Regions from separate parts of the Homo sapiens genome. Here regions 1, 2, 3, 5 and 6 are each linked to region 4. Evidence: promoter capture Hi-C in 16 types of primary human blood cells and fetal thymus (Javierre and others, 2016). All regions are on one chromosome and are shown on one strand. The core of a region is centred on a gene start or on the middle of the fragment in contact, and the rest is flanking DNA. Distances in the headings are between cores, read along the strand shown.

Evidence for each region. Contacts are between HindIII fragments. The CHiCAGO score rates a contact against its expected background, and 5 or more counts as called.
Region 1: a contact is called between a fragment that was not itself captured here and the fragment with the promoter of VPS13D in region 4, in 1 of 17 cell types (endothelial precursors). The highest score is 5.1, in endothelial precursors.
Region 2: a contact is called between a fragment that was not itself captured here and the fragment with the promoter of VPS13D in region 4, in 1 of 17 cell types (M1 macrophages). The highest score is 5.7, in M1 macrophages.
Region 3: a contact is called between the fragment with the promoter of KIAA2013 here and the fragment with the promoter of VPS13D in region 4, in 1 of 17 cell types (neutrophils). The highest score is 5.5, in neutrophils.
Region 5: a fragment that was not itself captured here is called in contact with the fragment with the promoter of VPS13D in region 4 in 2 of 17 cell types (neutrophils and activated CD4 T cells); the score reaches 6.5 in neutrophils.
Region 6: a contact is called between a fragment that was not itself captured here and the fragment with the promoter of VPS13D in region 4, in 12 of 17 cell types (non-activated CD4 T cells, endothelial precursors, erythroblasts and 9 more). The highest score is 7.6, in non-activated CD4 T cells.

Annotation. Positions count from the first base shown.
Region 1 is chr1:12,671,646-12,674,724 of GRCh38, reverse strand. No RefSeq gene overlaps it. Among named protein-coding and RNA genes, the nearest start is that of AADACL4, 29 kb to the right of the region's middle. The HindIII fragment of the contact is 9,462 bases long and covers 1-3,079 here.
Region 2 is chr1:12,487,202-12,490,187 of GRCh38, reverse strand. All of the region lies in intron 67 of VPS13D (vacuolar protein sorting 13 homolog D), which reads right to left. Among named protein-coding and RNA genes, the nearest start is that of SNORA59A, 19 kb to the left of the region's middle. The HindIII fragment of the contact is 153 bases long and covers 1,268-1,420 here.
Region 3 is chr1:11,924,479-11,927,719 of GRCh38, reverse strand. It overlaps KIAA2013, which reads left to right and starts at 1,293. Exons shown (of 3, transcript NM_138346.3): 1 at 1,293-2,515. The coding sequence starts at 1,483. RefSeq lists enhancers at 1,074-1,368, 1,023-1,686, 1,687-2,349 and a silencer at 1,369-1,438. The HindIII fragment of the contact is 9,969 bases long and covers 1-3,241 here.
Region 4 is chr1:12,228,699-12,231,802 of GRCh38, reverse strand. It overlaps VPS13D (vacuolar protein sorting 13 homolog D), which reads right to left and starts at 1,773. Exons shown (of 70, transcript NM_015378.4): 1 at 1,683-1,773. RefSeq lists silencers at 1,714-1,882, 1,419-1,948 and an enhancer at 1,094-2,024. The HindIII fragment of the contact is 6,412 bases long and covers 1-3,104 here.
Region 5 is chr1:11,819,675-11,822,802 of GRCh38, reverse strand. CLCN6 (chloride voltage-gated channel 6) reads right to left here. Exons shown (of 23, transcript NM_001286.5): 6 at 2-108. Among named protein-coding and RNA genes, the nearest start is that of CLCN6, 15 kb to the right of the region's middle. The HindIII fragment of the contact is 5,075 bases long and covers 1-3,128 here.
Region 6 is chr1:12,637,291-12,640,573 of GRCh38, reverse strand. No RefSeq gene overlaps it. Among named protein-coding and RNA genes, the nearest start is that of AADACL4, 5.2 kb to the left of the region's middle. The HindIII fragment of the contact is 4,411 bases long and covers 1-3,283 here.

The DNA of each region.
Region 1 (3,079 bases), core at 308-2,807, 440 kb before region 4:
TATAATTCAATTGCAGCTGTTTTTCCAGCTGTAGCATCATATGGGAGCAAGTAAACACAGCTCCTGGCACTTGGTAAGCAGCTACTGACCTGGCAGATGCCTTTTGTTCCATACCAATTTTGTAAGGAATACCACAAGCCACCTGCCTTTATCTAGCAGGGCTAACAGTATACCTTTACATTCTCACCTCAGGGCTATGTCAATTCTGTTTTCTGCCATAATATACTCTTCAGAGATGAGGATCATGATATTCCTGTAAACATCACACTGATCTGATACATCAGTGACATTGTGCTGACTGGATCATATGAGCAGAAAGTAGCAAGTACTTTAGATTCTGTGTTAGGTTCAACCCAGGAGACAGAAACAGGGAGTCACAGATATAAAGAACAGCCACTGCTCCTAGGTCAAGATCTGACCTTATTTTAGAGGACATGGTCATAGGTAACTAGAAAAGGTGCCAAAAAGCCATTCATGGGAGAGTGTCTAGTTGGTGACACTCTGCTGCAAAACCATCTGAATGTTACCAAAGGAGGCTGCTGGTCACTGAGTGTGATGGCCGCTGGGTACTGTAGGAGCTAGACATCAGAGAAGCCTTTCTCAGTGGGCCCCACATGTTGGCAAAACTGAATGCTGCAGGAAACCGTGGTAGAGAAAACACAAACTGCAGACATCTGGCAAGAAGAGTACACCAGAACTAAGACGAGAAGCCCGCCCTTTTCCAATATTTCTCCAGCACCTTCTACTGACAAACCTTAACATTGTTGGCCAGGGGCGGTGGCTCAGGCCTGTAATCCCAGCACTTTGGGAGGCCAAGGCAGGTGGATCACAAGGTCAGGAGATCGAGACCATCCTGGCTAACACGGTGAAACCTCGTCTCTACTAAAAATACAAAAAAAAAAATTAGCCAGGCATGGTGGCGGGCGTCTGTAGTTCCAGCTACTGGGGAGGCTGAGGCAGGAGAATGGCATGAACCCAGGAGGTGGAGCTTGCAGTGAGCCAAGATCGGGCCACTGCACTCCAGCCTGGGCAACAGGGTGAGACTCTGTCTCAAAAAAAAACAAACAAGCAAACATTGTTTCAGGTGACAAAATAGAACTATGTCAAGGGTATGTCAAGAACTGGGGAATAGGTCTCAGATTTTTATCCTACTTGCAAACTAATATTTTATCCTACTTGCAAAATAATAAGACTAATAAGTCTACTTGCAAACAATAAACTATCCACAGTTTCATGGATACTGCCAGAAAACATGAGATGTCAGGCTCAGATTCAAAGATTATTATTATGTATAGCATGGCAAACAGAATGAACTTCACATTAGCGTTGGTTCTCCTTGCCTCCCAGATCCCATGGGAATGACACAGAGAAGCCCAGGTGGATGGTGTGCATGGTAGGGGTGCATCACAGGTGAGGAACTCTGACCTTCAGGGACTCCAAATCTTCTATAAGCAAGAAAACCTGCCTAACCTTTTCCCTATTATCTTTTTTTTTTTTGTAACTTTAAATTCTGGGATACATGTGCAGAATGTGCAGGTTTGTTAGTTAGGTATACAGGTGCCATGGTGGTTTGCTGCACCTAGCAACCCGTCATCTAAGTTTTAAGCCCCACGTGCATTTGGTGTTTTTCCTAATGCTCTCCCTCCCCTTGCCCCCCACCCCCTGACAGGCGCTGATGTGTGTTGTTCCCCTCCCTGTGTTCATGTGTTCTCATTGTTCAACTCCCACTTACGAGTAAAAACATACGGTGTTTGCTTTCCTGTCCTCTGTTAGTTTGCTGAGAATGATGGCTTCCAGCTTCATCCATGTCCCTACAAAGGACATGAACTCATTCTTTTTTATGGCTGCAAAGTATTCCATGGTGATATGTACCACATTTTCTTTGTCCAGTCTCTCACTGATAGGCATTTGGATTGGTTCTGTGTCTTTGCTATTGTGATTAGTGCCACAATAAACATAAGTGTGCATTAAGTGTGCATGTGCCTTTATAGTAGAATGATTTATATTCCTTTGGGTATATACTCAATAATGAGATTGCTGGGTCAAATGGTATTTCTGGTTCTAGATTCTTGAGGAATCCCCACATTGTCTTCCACAATGGTTGAACTAATTTACATTCCCACCAACAATGTAAAAGTGTTCCTATTTCTCCACAGCCTCACCAGCATCAATTGTTTCTTGACTTTTTAATAATTTCCATTCTGTCTGGCATAAGATGGTATCTCGTTGTGATTTTCACTTGCATTTCTCTAATTATCAGTGATGTTGAGTTTTTTTCATATGTTCATTGGCTGCATAAATGTCTTCTTTTGAGAAGTGTCTGTTCATATCCTTTGCCCATCCTCATGGATAGGAAGAATCAAAGTCATGAAAATGGCCATACTGCCCAAAGTAATTTATAGATTCAATGCTATTCCCATCAAACTACTATTGACATTCTTCACAGGATTAGAAAAAACTACTTAAATTTCCTATGGAACCAAAAAAGAGCCCATATAGTCAAGGCAATCCTAAGCAAAAATAACAAAGTTGGAAGTATCATGCTACCTGACTTCAAACTATACCACAAGGCTACGGTAACCAAAACAACATGGTACTGATACCAAAACAGACACATAAACCAGTGGAAGAGAACACAGACCTCAGAAATAACACCACACATCTACATCCATCTGATCTTTGACAAACCTGACAAAAACAAGCAACAGGGGAAAGGATTCCCTATTTAATAAATGGTGCTGGGAAAGCTGGCTAGCCATATGCAGAAAACTGAAACTGGACCCCTTCCTTACACCTTATACAAAAATTAACTCAAGATGGATTAAAGACTTAAATGTAAAACCCAAAACCATAAAAACCCTGGAAGAAAGCCTAGGCAATACCATTCGGGACATAGGCATAAGCAAAACCTTCATGATGAAAACACCAAAAACAACTGCAGCAAAGCCAAAATGAACAAATGGGATCTAATTAAACTAAAGAGCTTCTGCACAGCAAAAGAAACTAGCATCAGAGTGAACAAGCAACCTACAGAATGGGAGAAAACTTTTGCAACCTACCCACCTGACAAATATGTAAT
Region 2 (2,986 bases), core at 95-2,594, 260 kb before region 4:
GAGCCCTGCAAATGGTTTGTGCCTGCCTCCTCCAGTCCCCTATTCAACCAACCTTTCCCAAACTATCATATGCAGAGGCCAGCACTAGGTCCTGAAGAAGACTGGGATGAATTAAGTATCCAGGGAGCTTACAGCAATTCAGTGGAGGAGATGAACAGAAATGGCAACAAGAACACAGCAGGGAAGCAGTAGGAGAGACAGGGAGCACTAGAGTAGGCAGCATAATATAATGGCTGAGAGGATCGGCTCTGGAGCCAGCCTGCCCAGTGGGTTTGAATCCCAGCTCCACCACTTACGAACTGTAACCACAGGCAAATTATGTGACTTCTTGGAGCGATGGTTTTCTCATCTATAAAGTGGGGGTAATGATGGGTTGTTGTGAGGAGTAGATAAGTCAATACATGTACAGTGCTTAGAACAGAGTCTAGCACATAATAGGCACTCGATAAAATGCTACCTATTCTTTTTATTAGTGTATTATTTAGAGTGCCATGGGTGCACACGAGGAACCCTAGTTGAGGTGTCTGGGATCTAAGATGGGCTAGGGTGTAACATCCAACCTCTTGTACTTAGTTTTCCTACTGGGGAGGCTCACTGCTTCAAACTGAAGTATTTTCCTTTCCCCTTTGCTTTCTTGTTAACATTCTACTTACCTCTCCCTAGAGTTCTCAAGTCATACATGCATAACACACATAAAATCCCATGTTGTACTATTGCCATTGAAAATGTAAGAAAGATGTTGATTCAAGAAATCATTAGAAATTATATTGATATTGTTAAGTTTTTAGCAATTTGACATCCAGCAGCAGGGATGACATTTCCTGGGCTGGGTTTTCTCCCATCAGTGGGATTCACACCTGACTTGTTTATAGGGGTCAAGGCTTCCCATAATTTAACACATGTTTTGGGGACCCCATGACACTGCAACTGTGACAGCTGGTAGGACTAATGCCAACAGATACACCTATTGGGATTTAAACTCTAAGACAAAAATACTCCAGATTTTTTTTCTTAGTCAACTGCCTCAGGGGCGAGACTACCTGTTAATGGCTGGGTGGGGAGGGGCAGAGTTACTTTATAAAGAATTCCAAGAAAATAGATCATGTTATAGTAAGAATGGAGCCTAAAAGGCTTGGATTTCTTTAAAGGCCATAATTTTTGCATGCATTCTGGGTTTGCTTTGCTTTTACAAAATAGTAGACAACCTATAAAGTGGTTTGCAACTTTCAACATCATGGAAGAACAAGGCGCTTTACAATTGTAAGCTTTCTTTGTGTTCTAAGTAGAACATTCTGAGTCAGAGAGTGTAGTGCTTATTGGAATCTCTCAAGCCATTATCAAATTCCTTGCTAACCTGTCACCTCTAATGCCAATCCCAAGATATTTCACAAGGACCGAAATACACCATCTCTGGTAAGCTTTATTTTGTGGCTATTAAGTACGCATGCTAATAATAACAAGCTGATTACATTAATAAACCATACATTTTCACTACTTTTTTTTTTTTTTTTTTTTTTTGGTTCAAATGATTTTCCTGCCTTAGCCTCTGAAAGTGCTGGGATTGCAGGTGTGGGCCACCGTGTCCAGCCCAATATTTTCAGATTTATTTCTGGCAAATGATTATATAATCTTTTTCTTTCAATGTTTATATATTATCTACCTTCTCCCAAAGTTGACCTCTTTTAAGAGAAGAGATGAAATTTAAGAACAAAGTAGTATAAAGGAACAAACATAGACTGGAAAAAGACAAACACAGGCTGAAATCCCAGTCACTTATTAGCTGGGTGACACTGAAGAAGTTACTAGATTGTTCTTAGCCTCAGATTCCTCATCAATAGGTGAGAACTTAATACCTACTTGGTTGATAATGTTGAGATAAAATATGAAGAATGTGTAGCATAGTGCCTGGCACATAGTAGGTACTTGTAAAAGTTAATCATCTCCCTCTTTCCTACCTTTATTCAGAATTATTGGGTGTCAAGTCCATTGAAAATACCAAAATGCGAAAGTGCAGTATTTAAAATTGTATCTGGACGGAGCACCCTGGGGGACAAGTTCTCCTGGACCTGTCTGAATGACTCCTGAGGAGCACACCCCATGTGGGTACAGAGGTGTTTTCTGAAGAAAGGAGTGCTTAAAACGTTTTCACTCACCTGACCCACTCCCATCCATATCCTGTTGCCTGACAGAGCTTTTTAAAACGAGCTAGAGCAAATCAAACTAGCAGCTCAATGAATTACACCAGATATCAAATTCTCATAATTGAAATTAATGAAGTTTTAGAAAAGTGCCATTAATAAAACTCACAGCAGGCGCTTTCAAAAAAAAATTTCAGGGGTAAAACACTTTCTGCAAATGAAGTTTGTAACACAATCTTAGTACGTACAACCGCTGACAATGAAGCTGCCTTGACTGAAGTGGGGGAGGCGTGTGTCCTAACTGTCACCTCTCCCCTGGGAAGCCCTGAAGCCCCCTCCCCCAGGGCCTCTTTCAGTGACCAAAGCCAAGCAGATATGAGGATGCTCCAGCCCCCAGAGGGGACCTGCTTTGTGATTTGTTTGCTTTTTTTTTTTTTTTGAGATGGAATCTCGCTCTGTCGCCCAGGCTGCAGTGTAGTGGTGTGATCTCGGCTCACTGCAACCTCCACCTCCTGGGTTCAAGCAATTCTCCTGCCTCAGCCTCCCAAGTAGCTGGGATTACAGGTATACGGCACCATGCCCGGCTAATTTTTTTGTATTTTTAGTAGAGACGGGGTTTCACCATATTGGCCAGGCTGGTCTCGAACTCCTGACCTTGTGATCCGCCCACCTCGGCCTCCCAAAGTGCTGGGGATTACAGGCGTGAGCCACCGTGCCTGACCCGATTTGTTTGCTTTTTCAAGACCGCCTGTTCACTCAGCCTGGAGGTTTTAAATCTCCTTCTACTATCAAACAGAGACTATGGAGGAGGGTGAGGAGGAAAAGAAAGGGGCAACAGGAGCAGATGC
Region 3 (3,241 bases), core at 44-2,543, 300 kb after region 4:
TGGGATTACAGGCGCCCACCACCACGCCCAGCTAATTTTTGCATTTTTATTTTTTTATTTTTATTTATTTATTTTTTTTTTTTTGAGACAGAGTCTCCCTCTGTCACCCAGGCTGGAGTGCAGTGGCGCGATCTTGGCTCACTGCAAGCACCGCCTCCCGGGTTCACGCCATTCTCCTGCCTCAGCCTCCCGAGTAGCTGGGACTACAGGCGCCTGCCACCACGCCTGGCTAATTTTTTATATTTTTAGTAGAGACAGGGTTTCACCGTGTTAGCCAGGATGGTCTCGATCTCCTGATCTCGTGATCTGGCGGCCTCGGCCTCCCAAAATGCTGGGATTACAGGCGTGAGCCACCGTGCCCAGCCTAATTTTTGTATTTTTAGTAGAGACAGGTTTTCACCATGTTGGTCAGGCTGGTTTCGAACTCCTGACCTCAAGTGATTTGCCCATCTCAGCCTCCTAAAGTGCTGGAATTACAGACGTGAGCCACCACTCCTGGCCTCTGGTGGTTCCCCTTCCCCTCCTCCTCCCTTTTCCTTTCTTCTTCTTTCTTCCTCTTCTTCTCTCTCCTTTTTTTTTCCTCCACTTTTTCGTATTGTTCCAAGTGTTTTTTTGCAGTGAGGATAGTCTTTTTTTTTTTTTTTTTTTTTGAGACAGAGTCTCACTCTGTCGCCCAGGCTGGAGTGCAGTGGCGTGATCTCGGCTCACTGCAAGCCTGCAACCTCCGCCTCACGGGTTCAAGCAGTTCTCCTACCTCAGCCTCCTGAGGAGCAGGGATTACAGGCATGCGCCACCACGCCCGGCTAGTTTTTGTATTTTTAGTAGAGATGGGGTTTCACCATGTTGGTCAGGCTGGTCTCAAACTGCTGACCTCGTGATCCGCCCGCCTTGGCCTCCCAAAGTGCTGGGATTACAGGCGTGAGCCACCGCGCGCGGCGAGAGGATGGTCATTTTTACAGAAACAAAGTTGTTGTGTGTGTGTGTGTGTATGTTTTTAAATTTTGGGGCTGTTGAATCCATCAGTAGCAAAGGGGCCCAACACGTGTTCGGTTTGGCTGGCTCGATGTTTTTTTCACGAGTGAATTGGATGCTTCCAGTCCTCCCCAGACCCCTGCACTTAACTCCACTGGACTTCACTCTTCCGGCCTGGGAACGAGTGGTCCCGCCCCCGGCAGCTTTTGTCCCGCCCTCGCCGTGGCTCCGCCCCCTTCTCTCCGGCCTGCTCTCTCTCCTCCCTCCGCCCTCCCGTTTTCCATCTGTCGTAAAAGACACGGCGACGCTTGACCGCCGGCGTCGTTTGACGGCTGGAGGCCACCGAGAAGAAGGAGGAAGCAGGGGTGGCGGCTGCTGCGGCGGTTGCGGCGGGGGCCGGGGTGGGCGCCGCGGTCCGGGCCGGGCAGTGAGGCGCGGGCGGCCGGGCCGGTGGGCTGGGCGGCGGGCCCGGCGGCCGCCCTCGCACCCTTGCCCGCGCCTGGCGGCCCGATGTGGCTGCAGCAGCGGCTCAAGGGGCTGCCGGGACTGCTGTCGAGCAGCTGGGCCCGCCGCCTCCTCTGCCTGCTTGGCCTCCTGCTGCTGCTTCTGTGGTTTGGGGGGTCCGGCGCGCGGCGGGCGGCGGGCGGCCTGCACCTGCTGCCCTGGTCCCGCGGTGAGCCGGGCGCCGCCGAGCCGTCTGCCTGCCTGGAGGCGGCCACCCGCGCCTGGCGCGGCCTGCGGGAGCGCGGTGAGGTGGTACCGCTGGGTCCTGGAGTGCCGGCCCTGGTGGCCAACGGCTTCCTGGCCCTGGACGTGGCTGCCAATCGGCTGTGGGTGACTCCCGGGGAGCGGGAGCCCGCCGTGGCGCCGGACTTTGTGCCCTTCGTGCAGCTGCGCCCGCTGAGCGCGCTGGCTGAAGCTGGAGAGGCGGTGCTGCTGCTGCGGGAGGGGCTTCTGCGCCGCGTGCGTTGCCTGCAGCTGGGGTCCCCAGGTCCTGGCCCCGTGGCCGCCGGCCCCGGGCCCGCCTCCGTCTCTGGCCTTGCCGCGGGGTCCGGCCGCGACTGCGTGCTGCTGCAAGAGGACTTTCTGGCGCACAGGGGCCGACCCCACGTCTACCTGCAGCGCATCCAGCTCAACAACCCCACGGAGCGCGTGGCCGCGCTGCAGACTGTGGGGCCCACTGCCGGCCCAGCCCCCAAGGCCTTCACCAGTACCCTGGAGAAGGTCGGAGACCATCAGTTCCTCCTCTACTCAGGCCGGTCCCCGCCTACGCCCACTGGGTTGGTGCACCTGGTGGTGGTGGCCGCCAAGAAGCTGGTGAACCGCCTCCAAGTGGCTCCCAAGACGCAGCTGGATGAGACGGTGCTGTGGGTGGTGCACGTCTCTGGCCCCATTAACCCCCAGGTGCTCAAAAGCAAAGCAGCCAAGGAGCTCAAGGCGCTGCAGGACTTGGCACGGAAGGAAATGCTGGAGCTCTTGGACATGCCAGCGGCGGAGCTGCTTCAAGACCACCAGCTCCTCTGGGCTCAGCTCTTCAGCCCAGGTGAGTCCTGGCCAGCGCTTGGTCCACCCTAGATATGTCCCTCCCAAGTCTGCAGAGGTGACACTGAAGGTGATGGTGGGGTGGTTGAAACTTGGGCTTGGCGTTTCACCAGTGGTTGAATCTGCTCAACTGCTTAGTGTCTGTGCGACCTTTGGATTCGTCGCCTAATCTCTCTGGGCCTGTATTTAATAACAATAACGCCTACCTCAGAAGGTTTTTATGAGACTGTAGTGGACAATTGAGTGTAAAGGTCAATTCTTTCTGTTACTTGTTTTGGTAGATGGGGCCTGATGTGAGCAGAGTGAAGTGTTTTAGAGTCAGTTTGCAGAGGTGAAACCAGCAGGTGGATCCCCTGATTCTTTGCTCAGCACCGCAGTCGGCCTGGTGACAGACGTGGGCTTCTTGACATAACCCCTGCTAGGCTGAGGTGCGTCCTGGCAGTTGTGGCTGCAACTGGTTCACAGGGAGGTTGGAGAATCCCTTTTAGCAGGTTGAGATGCTCCCGCCCGATGAAAACTCTCCTCTCGTTGACTGTTAAAGAAAAGAAAATCCTGTTCTGGATGAGAGAGGGGTTTTGGTTTCCAGGGTTCCAATTGTCTGAACCTTTGTGTTTGGTTGCTCAGAGAGTTGAGTTCATTCAGCAAGTATCTATTGAATGCTTCTGCCAGGGCTGTTCTATGCATGGGGGGGTGCAGATGGGAACCAGAGTTCCTGTTCTCATGGTGC
Region 4 (3,104 bases), core at 524-3,023:
TTGGCCAGGCTGGTCTGAAATCCTGACCTTAAGCGATCTGCCCACTTTGGCCTCCCAAAGTGCTGGGATTACAGGCGTGAGCCACCGTGCCCGGCCACTATTATAACTTGAAAGGAGTAAATTTGTGAAAACCAAATGTGAAACTGACTAATCTTACTATGGGGACTCCAAACAAATTTGAGCAAGAAGCCAAGGTCAGAGTACTCTTTATTTTTGTAGTTATTGCCACTAATTTCGGCCCTAAATGCCAACTCTGAGTGCCAATTACCAATTATCTCCAAATCAAGGGAAACAACTGTCAGTTTGTAAACAAGTTCAGGCCCTACCCTACTTGCCCTAAACGGAAAAGAATGCAAAGCACAGATTTTAAAAGCATGAGTGATTAGCATTGTGAGGCAACCTGGTCAGTAACATTGAGGCCCAAACCAGAAAGCACCCATTATTTGCTCTGCTAAGCATCTAGACCGTGCTTGAGGCCACTTCAAGGATTCCCTGAAGGAATTCAGTGTCAGCAAGGGCCGCCAGACTGGCCAGAGTCCCAAAGTGTTTACACTCCGGTCCATCAGGACTTCTAGGCAGCTGCCTGGCACTGGCACTAACCCCCACCTGGGCTCCCCTACCCAGTGGGGCGGGTGACAGTAGGGATCAGTGCTGAGCCCACGGGCGGGCAGACAGCCGGGCATGACCTTGAGCCAGGCCCCTCCCCTGAGGAGCGGCCAGACCGGGAATAGGAAGGACTGGCAACCGGACCTGGGCGTCCCTCCCCGAGGCGGCCAGGGCTGAACGCTGCCGGCGCCAGGGAGCTCCAAAACCGGGGCGGGGACGGCTGTGCGACCGGTGGCCCCACAGGAACGGCACTGCCCGGAAGGCGACGCTCCCACAACCCTCCCGCCCCCAGCTCTCGGAACCCTCAGCCCCCTCCAGGGGACAGAGACCCCACCACCCAAGTAAAACCTGGAGGGAACGGCGCCGGGATCCCATACCTAGGAGGAGTGGCTGGGCCAGGGCGTGACCCTGGGGGGTAAAAGGTAAAGAGAGGTTTTAGGCCTGATGTCTGGCATCCCACACCTAGGAGGAGTGGCTGGGCCAGGGCGTGACCCTGGGGGGCAAAAGGTAAAGAGAGGTTTTAGGCCTGATGTCTCCACGCGAGAGTGTGACCTCGGGTGGCTGATTAAGGGAGGTGGCTAAGGCATTCTAGAGAACTGACACCCCACTCTTCGGCGTAATGTGGGGGGCTCGCACACTGGGGTCCTGCATTGAGACCAAGGCTCAGGCGGACAGGCGCGGACTGACACCCCCCAATTCCAGGGCGCCAGGCTGCTGGGACCCCGGAAAGTGTGCCGGGGTCCAGCGGGGGCTCGGGCTCCCCAGGACACGGACGTCGGGGTTCCCAGAGGTTCAGCCAGCCCCGAGCCTGTGCTTGGGGAGCTCGCGGGGACTCGGACGCAGGGGTCCCCGGAGGTGGCGGGCTTGGGGCCCGGGGGGAGCAGACGCCCAGGGTTACCCCGAGGGGCTCAGACCGAGGCCGGACGACGGGGCCCCCAGGCTCCTAGCATCGCTCTCCCCAGGGTGGGCCCGGGCCCCCATGTCCAGGCGGAGCCCTAGCGGCGGCCCGCGGGTCCGCGCCGGCCCTGCAGTTCCCGACCCTGGCCCCGCCCGGCACGGAGCCGCTCGGCCCCTACCTGTCGGTGTCCCGGGCCGCCCGCCCCAGCCCGGCGCTGCGCGGCGTTTCCTCCCCGCCGCTCCTCAATGGCGCAGGCCCGCGGCGCTCAGGCCGGCCCCGACCCGACCAATCGAGCGGCCGACGCGCCGGTGCCTGGCCAGCCGAGCGCCGAGTTATCGAGGAGGCGCCCCCTGGCGCCGGCGGCCGCTCCTGCAGTGGTGCGGGCCCCTCCAGGGTTCGCGGACACTGGGGCTTATTTTATAGGTGGGGAAATTGAGTCCCAGGGGAGGGCAGGGCCACAAATGACTCTGGTTCAGACAGCATGGGAACCCAGGATTCTTCCCACCTACAACCACCCTGCCTTCCATCCAAGCGAAAGGTGCGATTGGCCGTCCGTCTGGCCCACTCACCCACAGTCCGTTCCCCACTTCGCAGCCACAGGGGCCTGTTAATTCAGACCCTGCCCTTCCCTGCTTAAAACGGCGTCCCCACCGTACTTCAGTTAAAACCCACCTCCTTACAGAGCTGCCACCAAGGTCCCACTGGATCTGGTCCCTTCCCATTTCAGCCACTTTTTCCCCGGCCGACTCTGCCTCAGCATCCTTCAGTTTCTGCCCCAGGAACTGTACCTTTGCCGTTGTCTCTACCTAGGACCCTTCTCCTCAGACCAATAGAAACACAATGCCAGCCACATAGGCAATCCACATTTACTAGCTAGTACATTTTTTTTAAACGAAAAAGAAGAAAATGAACTTCATTTTAATATATTTAATCCAATATGTTCAAAATATGATCATCTCAACATGTCGCCAAAAGAAAAAATTACTAATACAATATGTTAACTTTTTTATAGTAAGTTTTTGAAATTCGGGTATATTTTACATTTACTGCGCATCTCAGTACAAACTAGCCAGAATTCCAGTGCTCAATACCCTCTTGTGGCCAATCCAGAGCTACAGAATAGCTCTGGATATTCGTATAGCTGACTCCCTCTGGCTTCAAATATTCCACTCAGAGAGGACTTGTGCCTATCTACGGTTCCATTATGAGCTGGGCACAGTGGCTCATGCCTGTAATCCCAGCACTTCAGGAGGCTGAGGCGGGCGGATCACTGAAGTCAGGAGTTTGAGACCAGCCTGGCCAACATAGTGAAACCCCATCTCTACTAAAACTACAAAAATTAGCCGGGCGTGGTAGTGCACACCTGTAGTCCCAGCTACTGGGGAAGCTGAGGCAGGAGAATCACTTGAACCCGGGAGGCGGAGGTTGCAGTCAGCCGAGATCACCCCTCTGCACTCCAGACAGAGTGAGACTCCCTCTCAAAAATGAAAATAAAAATAAAGTTCCATTATCCATTACCCTGTTGTATTTTATTCATGGAACCTAATACTCCCTGAGATTATCTTGTTTGTTTATACATATGTTGTTCTTTCCCCAGTAC
Region 5 (3,128 bases), core at 6-2,505, 410 kb after region 4:
CCTCAATGAGAACAAGGAGGCTTGCCAGGAAGACAAAGGTGAGGTTAAAACCCAGGAGTTCAAGGAGAGACAGAGCGAGGCAGCCTTTCTGGCTGCACTCCTCCACCGCTGCGGAAACTGGGTTAAGGAAACTTGTTCATCAGCCGAGGGGTGTCCCCGTCATCACTTGAGAGGGTGCAGCTGCTTCTCCTTTGGATCATGCTGGCTGCTGAGTGCACTTTTTCTCTATATATAAAAATTTTTTAAAAACTGCCTGAGATGACTGGGTGCAATGGCTCATGCCTGTAATCCCAACACTTTGGGAGGCTGAGGCAGGAGGATCACTTGAGCCTAAGAGTTGGAGGCCAGCCTGGGCAATGTAGTGAGACCATGTCGCTACAAAAAGTACAAAAGGTATATGCCTATGGTCCCAGCTACTCAAGAAGCTGAGGTGGGAGGATCGCTTGAGCCTGGGAGGCTGAGGCTGCAGTGAGCTGTCATTGCACCACTGCATTCCAGCCTAGGCAACAGTGTGAGGCCTCATCTCTTAAAAAAAAGAAAAAATTGTTTGAGATGCCTTTGACATTAGGAAATACTTCAAACATTACAAAAAGTAACGAATACCCATACCCTCACAACTGTAGCTTTAACAAATCTCAACAACATGCCATATATGCTCCAGGTATTTTTAAAAAAGAAAACATTCAGTACCATTTTAAGAAACAAAACAAAACAAAAAAAAAAACAGTTTTCCTTCCTCTCTCCCCTGGGAGAAACCACTAACCTGAAATTATTGTGTGTATTTCAAAAGTGTCCACACTGTTGTACACGGCACTTGTATATTCTGTAACTTGCTCTTTTTTTCTCAACATTAAGTCTTTGAGAATTAGCCATGTTGATACACACAACTCTGTGGTTCGTTCACTTTCACTTGTCTAAAATTTTTATTTTACAATCTACAGAAATGACATGATGTCTAAAATGATACCATATGAATGTACCATAATTTTTCCATTCTCCCATTTGGTGACTCCAGCTTTTTGCTATCATAAAGCTATAATTACCACCTTTGTACATGTCTACGGTTCAAATTTCTAAGAGGAATGTATGAGTCACAGGAATGTGCACCTTCCTTTTTCTAGAGGTTTACTGGCCAGTTTTTCTCTTTTGAGAATTCCAGTTCACATCCTTTGCTCGTTTTCCTTCCATTGGACCATCTGTTGTTTTTCTGATTGAGTTGCAGGAGTTCTTCCTGTATTATTTGTTCTGAATCAGAGTCTCATTCTGTCACCCAGGCTGGAGTACAGTGTTGCAATCTCGGCTCACTGCAACCTCCGCCTCCTGGGTTCAAGTGATTCTCCTGCCTCTGCCTCCCAAGTATCTGGACTAAAGGTGCACACCACCACACTCAGCTCAATTTGTATTTTTAGTAGAGACAGGGTTTCACCATGTTGGCCAGGCTGGTCTTGAACTCCTGACCTCAAGTGATCCGCCTGCCTCGGCCTCCCAAAGTGCTGGGATTACAGGCGTCAGCCACCGCGCCCAGCCTCTTCCTGTATTCTGGATACTAATTATCTGCCTCTTAAATGCATAGTAAATAACCTCTCTCAGGCTGTGGACTTGTTTTCACTTTATTTATGGTGTTTTATTGTTGTTATTTGGAGTTTTTGTCTTTATAAATACAATATGTACTTTGATGTGGTCAAATTTATTGATTTTGTTTGTTTTTTTTTTTTGTTGTTGTTTTTTGAGACAGTTTTGCTCTCATTGCCCAGGCTGGAGTGCAATGGCGCGATCTCGGCTCACTGCAGCCTCTGTCTCCCGGGTTCAAGCGATTCTCCCACCTCAGCCTTCCAAGTAGCTGGGATTACAGGCACCCGCCACCATGCCCAGCTAATTTTTTGTACTTTTAGTAGAGATGGGGTTTTGTCATGTTAGCCAGGCTGGCCTTGAACTCCTGACCTCAGGTGATCTGCCTGCCTCGGCCTCCCAAAGTCCTGAGATTACAGGCATGAGCCACTGCACCCAGCCATTGATGTTTTTGTTTGTTTGTTTTTGAGACGGAGTCTTGCTCTGTCACCCAGGCTGGAGTGCAGTGGCGTGATCTTGGCTTACTGCAAGCTCCGCCTCCCAGGTTCATGCCATTCTCCTGCCTCAGCCTCCCCAGCATCTGGGACTACAGGCGCACACCGCCACGCCCAGCTAATTTTTTTGTATTTTTAGTAGAGACGGGGTTTCACCGTGTTAGCCAGGATGGTCTCAATCTCCTGACCTTGTGATCCGCCTGCCTCTGCCTCCCAAAATGCTGGGATTACAGGCGTGAGCCACTGTGTCCGGCCCCATTGATGTTTTTTCTTATAGTCTGTGCCTTCTGGAGTTTTAAGAAATTATTCCCCACTCTTGACAACATATAGTCTCCCGAAGTTTTGTTCTGCATATTTACATCTTCATCTGGAATTTATCTTATTTATAGTATGAAATAGGAATATAACTATTTTTCCATATGGATCACCCATGTCCCAGCATCATTTTTTTTAAGACAGGGTCTTGCTATGCTGCCCAGGCACAGTCATGGTGCATTACAGCCTCAAACTCCTGGGCTCACCTCCTAAGTAGCTGGGACTACAGAGATGTGTATCTTTTATTTATTAAATAACACAGCGTCTTTTATTAAATCATTCATCACTCCCTCACTGATTTGTAATATTAACTGTCATTCACCAAAGTTCCATGTATGTGAGGACCAGCTTCTGCTTCTCTATCATTTTCCACTGTCTAGGTATTCCTGCACCAATATGACCAATTTCAATGACTGTATCTTAAATTTTATGACTTTTTTTTCCCTAACTCCCCAAACTTGTTAATTTTATAAGACTTGATATCTGACAGGGTCAAGTCCACCTTCTTGTCATTTAGAACTATACTGACTGCTTTTGGCCCTTTACTCTTCTACACAAATTTACAAAGAATTTCTGAGTTCCACAACAAATTCTATTGGAATTTTGATTGGAACTACATTAAATTTACAGATTAGGGAGTACAGGCATCTTTGCGGCATCTGTAATCTTATCAACCACAAACATAGGTATATGTCTTTGCTTATTAAAGTCCTTCTTTTGTGTCCTTCAGTGATCATTAGAAATATTAAA
Region 6 (3,283 bases), core at 628-3,127, 410 kb before region 4:
TTAGCCAATCAGGTTAGCTTAAATTGTGCAGTCCAACTCCAGCCAATGTGGAAAAGACACAGAAACAGAAGCTGTGTTAGGGATAAAAACCCTTGTCTCCTTTGTTCCTTGCGCACTTGCGATCATGACTGATGCAGGCAGCACCCTTCTGCAGAAGTAAATTTGCCTTGCCGAGAAATCTTTTGTTTGAGTGCTCGTTTTCTTTGCAGCTCCAAGCTCTTATTTCCAACAAACTCCAACTATGATCAATGCAAAGAGATGGCATCACTGGTAAATTATTCCAAACACTTAAAGAAGAATTCATTCCAATTCTTCACAAACTCTTCTTAAAAACAGAAGAGAAGGGAACACTTCTCGATGGCTATAATAAAAAAGACAGATAATAACAAGTATTGTCAAGGATGTGGAGAAACTGGAACTCACATTCCTTGTGAAAATGTAAAATGCTGCAGCCACTTTGGAAAGATTTTAGCAGTTCCTCAAAATTTATTGAACATAGAATTATCATATGACCTAGCAAGTCCACTTTAGGTATATACACAAGAGAATTGAAAACATGTGTCTACACAAAACCCTATCTATAAATGGTCAGAGCAACATTATTTATAATACCCCAAAAGTGGAGACAATCCAAATGTCCATCAACCGGTGAACAGGTAAACAATGTGGTATATATATTGTATCAGGGTTCTCCAGAAAGATCAAACCAATAGGACATAGAGAGAGAGCTATAAGCGGGGATTTATTAGGGGAATTGGCTTACACAGTTATGGAGGCTGAGAAGTCCCACAACAGGTCAACTGCAAGCTGGAAACCCTGGGATGCTGGTAGCGTGGATCAGTCCAAGTCCAAAGGCCTCAGAACCAGGGAAGCTGATGGTGTAATTCTCTATCCAAGGCCAAATGCCTGAGAACTCAGGGGGCACGGGGTACCACTGGTGCAAGTCCTAGAGTTAAAAAGCCAGAGAGCCTGGAGTTGCTGTCCAAGTATAAGAGAGGAAGAGTACATTCAAGCTCCAGCAGATACATGAACACATTAGGCTTTTCTTTGTTTTGATTCTCTCTGGACCCCCAGCAGATTAGATGGTGGCCGCCCACCTTGAGGGCAGATCTTACCCACCTAGTTCACTCAGATTCACATGCTAATCAATGGAAACCCCCTCATAGAGACACCCAAAAATGATGCTTGACCAGGTTTCTAGGTATTCCTTAACCCAGTCGAGTTGATAGCTAGCACTAACTATCACATCTATGCAACAAAATATTATTCAGTAGGCCAAGCACTCATGCCTGTAATCCCAGCACTTTGGGAGGCCAAGGAAGGAGGATCACTTGAACCCAGAAGTTTGAGACCAGCCTGGGCAATAGAGTGAGACCCCATTTCCAAGAAAAAAAAATGTTTAAAATCAGTGGGGCATGGTGGCACACGCCTGTAGTTCCAGCTACTCGGGAGGCTGAGGTGCAAGGATCACTTGAGCCCGGGAGGTTGAGGCTGCAGTGAGCTGTGATCACACCACTGCATGACAGCCTGGGGTGACAGAGAGAGATCCTGTCTCAAAAAAAAAAAAAAGAAAAGAAAAGAAAGACAGAGAGAAGGAAGGAAGGAAGGAAGGGAGAAAGAAGAAAGAAAAAGAGAAAGAAGAAAGAGAGAAAGAAAGAGAGAGAAGAAAGAAAGAAAGAAAGAAGAAAGAAAGAAAGAAAGAAAGAAAGAAAGAAAGAAAGAAAGAAAGAAAGAAAGAAAGAAAGGAAAAGAAGGAAAATTCTAATGAGCTTTAGGTTCTAATCTCCCAAACCCTTCCCTTCTCATGACCTCCACTCCATGTGGCTTGGATGAGGGATTTTAGACCTCAGGGATCTGTGAGGACAGCAATGGGGGTATGTGGTATTATCCTGATATTTCCAAAAGCCCAGAAGAGGTAAGGATGCACGAGCTATTTGGCACATCTGGTGGGGTTGCTTGTGGCTAGCACTCTAGGTACTCGAGGCAGTAATTCAACTAATAAATAGTTGCCATTTACTGAGGACTCCTTGTGTGCCAAGCAGTGTCCTACCAACAGCCCTCTGAGGTAAGCACATGGAGATGAAACTCACACTCTACAAGATTGCCTCACTTTCCCAAGATCATTCCCAAAGGGAAAGAGGTTTCTAGCAAGTGTGTGAGGCTGTGTGTTAATTTCATACAGGTTCCCATATTCCAATGTAACAATAACGGCAACAAAAATAACTAAGTCCAACATTGGTTAAGTGTCTGCAATGGCCCAGGCACAGCTGTGAAGTGCCTTACCTGTAGGAATTTGTTCAATGTCTGCAACACCCTAGAGGAAGGTACTGGCGTGATCCCTACTTCACAGATGAGGATACCAAGCCCCAGAATGCCAGACTCACTCGCCCACATTCATAGAGCCAGAGGTAGAAGGGCTCAGCCCAGAGCCCAAGCACTGCCCTGTCTCCTCTCAGGTCTGTTAAAGCAAACTAAATATGGCCTGAGAAGGACTCCATACTTCCATATTTGAGTCCCCGTAGACATACTGTAACCAGCTTAATAGTTAGACAAGATTGAAAACCTAACATAGAAGTATGCGCTTGTAACAATAACTGAGTCTTGGCCAATCCCAGCGGCCAAACTTCAACCACTCAGAGCCTGCCAAGTGTTCAAACTGTGTTCAAATAAGGCAAAGGCCATCCTGTTTCGGTACCTCGCTGCCAATTTCTGTACCTCTCTTCCCTTTTTTTTGTCTGTAAATCTTCTACCACGTGGCCAGATTGGTGGCTCATGCCTGTAATCCTGGCACTTTGGGAGGCCGAGGCAGGATTGTTTGAGCCTAGGAGTTCGAGACCAGCCTAGGCAACAGAGTGAGACCCCATCTCAAAAAAAAAAAAAAAAAAAATTAGTTGATGAGCTTTTTTATCACTTGAGGTCAGGAGTTTGAGACCAGCCTGGCCAATATGGTGAAACCTTGTCTCTTCTAAAAATACAAAAATTAGCTGGATGTGGTGGCACGCACCTGTAGTCTCAGCAACTCGGGAGGCTGAGGCAGGAGAATCATTTGAACCTGGGAGGTGGAGATTGCAGTGAACAGTGATGGCACCATTGCACTCCAGTCTGGGTGTCACAGGGAGTCTCCATCTCAAAAAAAAAAAAAAAAGAAATCTTCTTCCACCACGTGGCTCCACTGGAGTCTCTGTGAATCTCCCATGATTCTGGGGGCTGCCTTATTCATGAATCATTCATTTCTCAATTAAACTCCTTTAAATTTAATTTGGCTGAAGTTTTTCTTTTATCA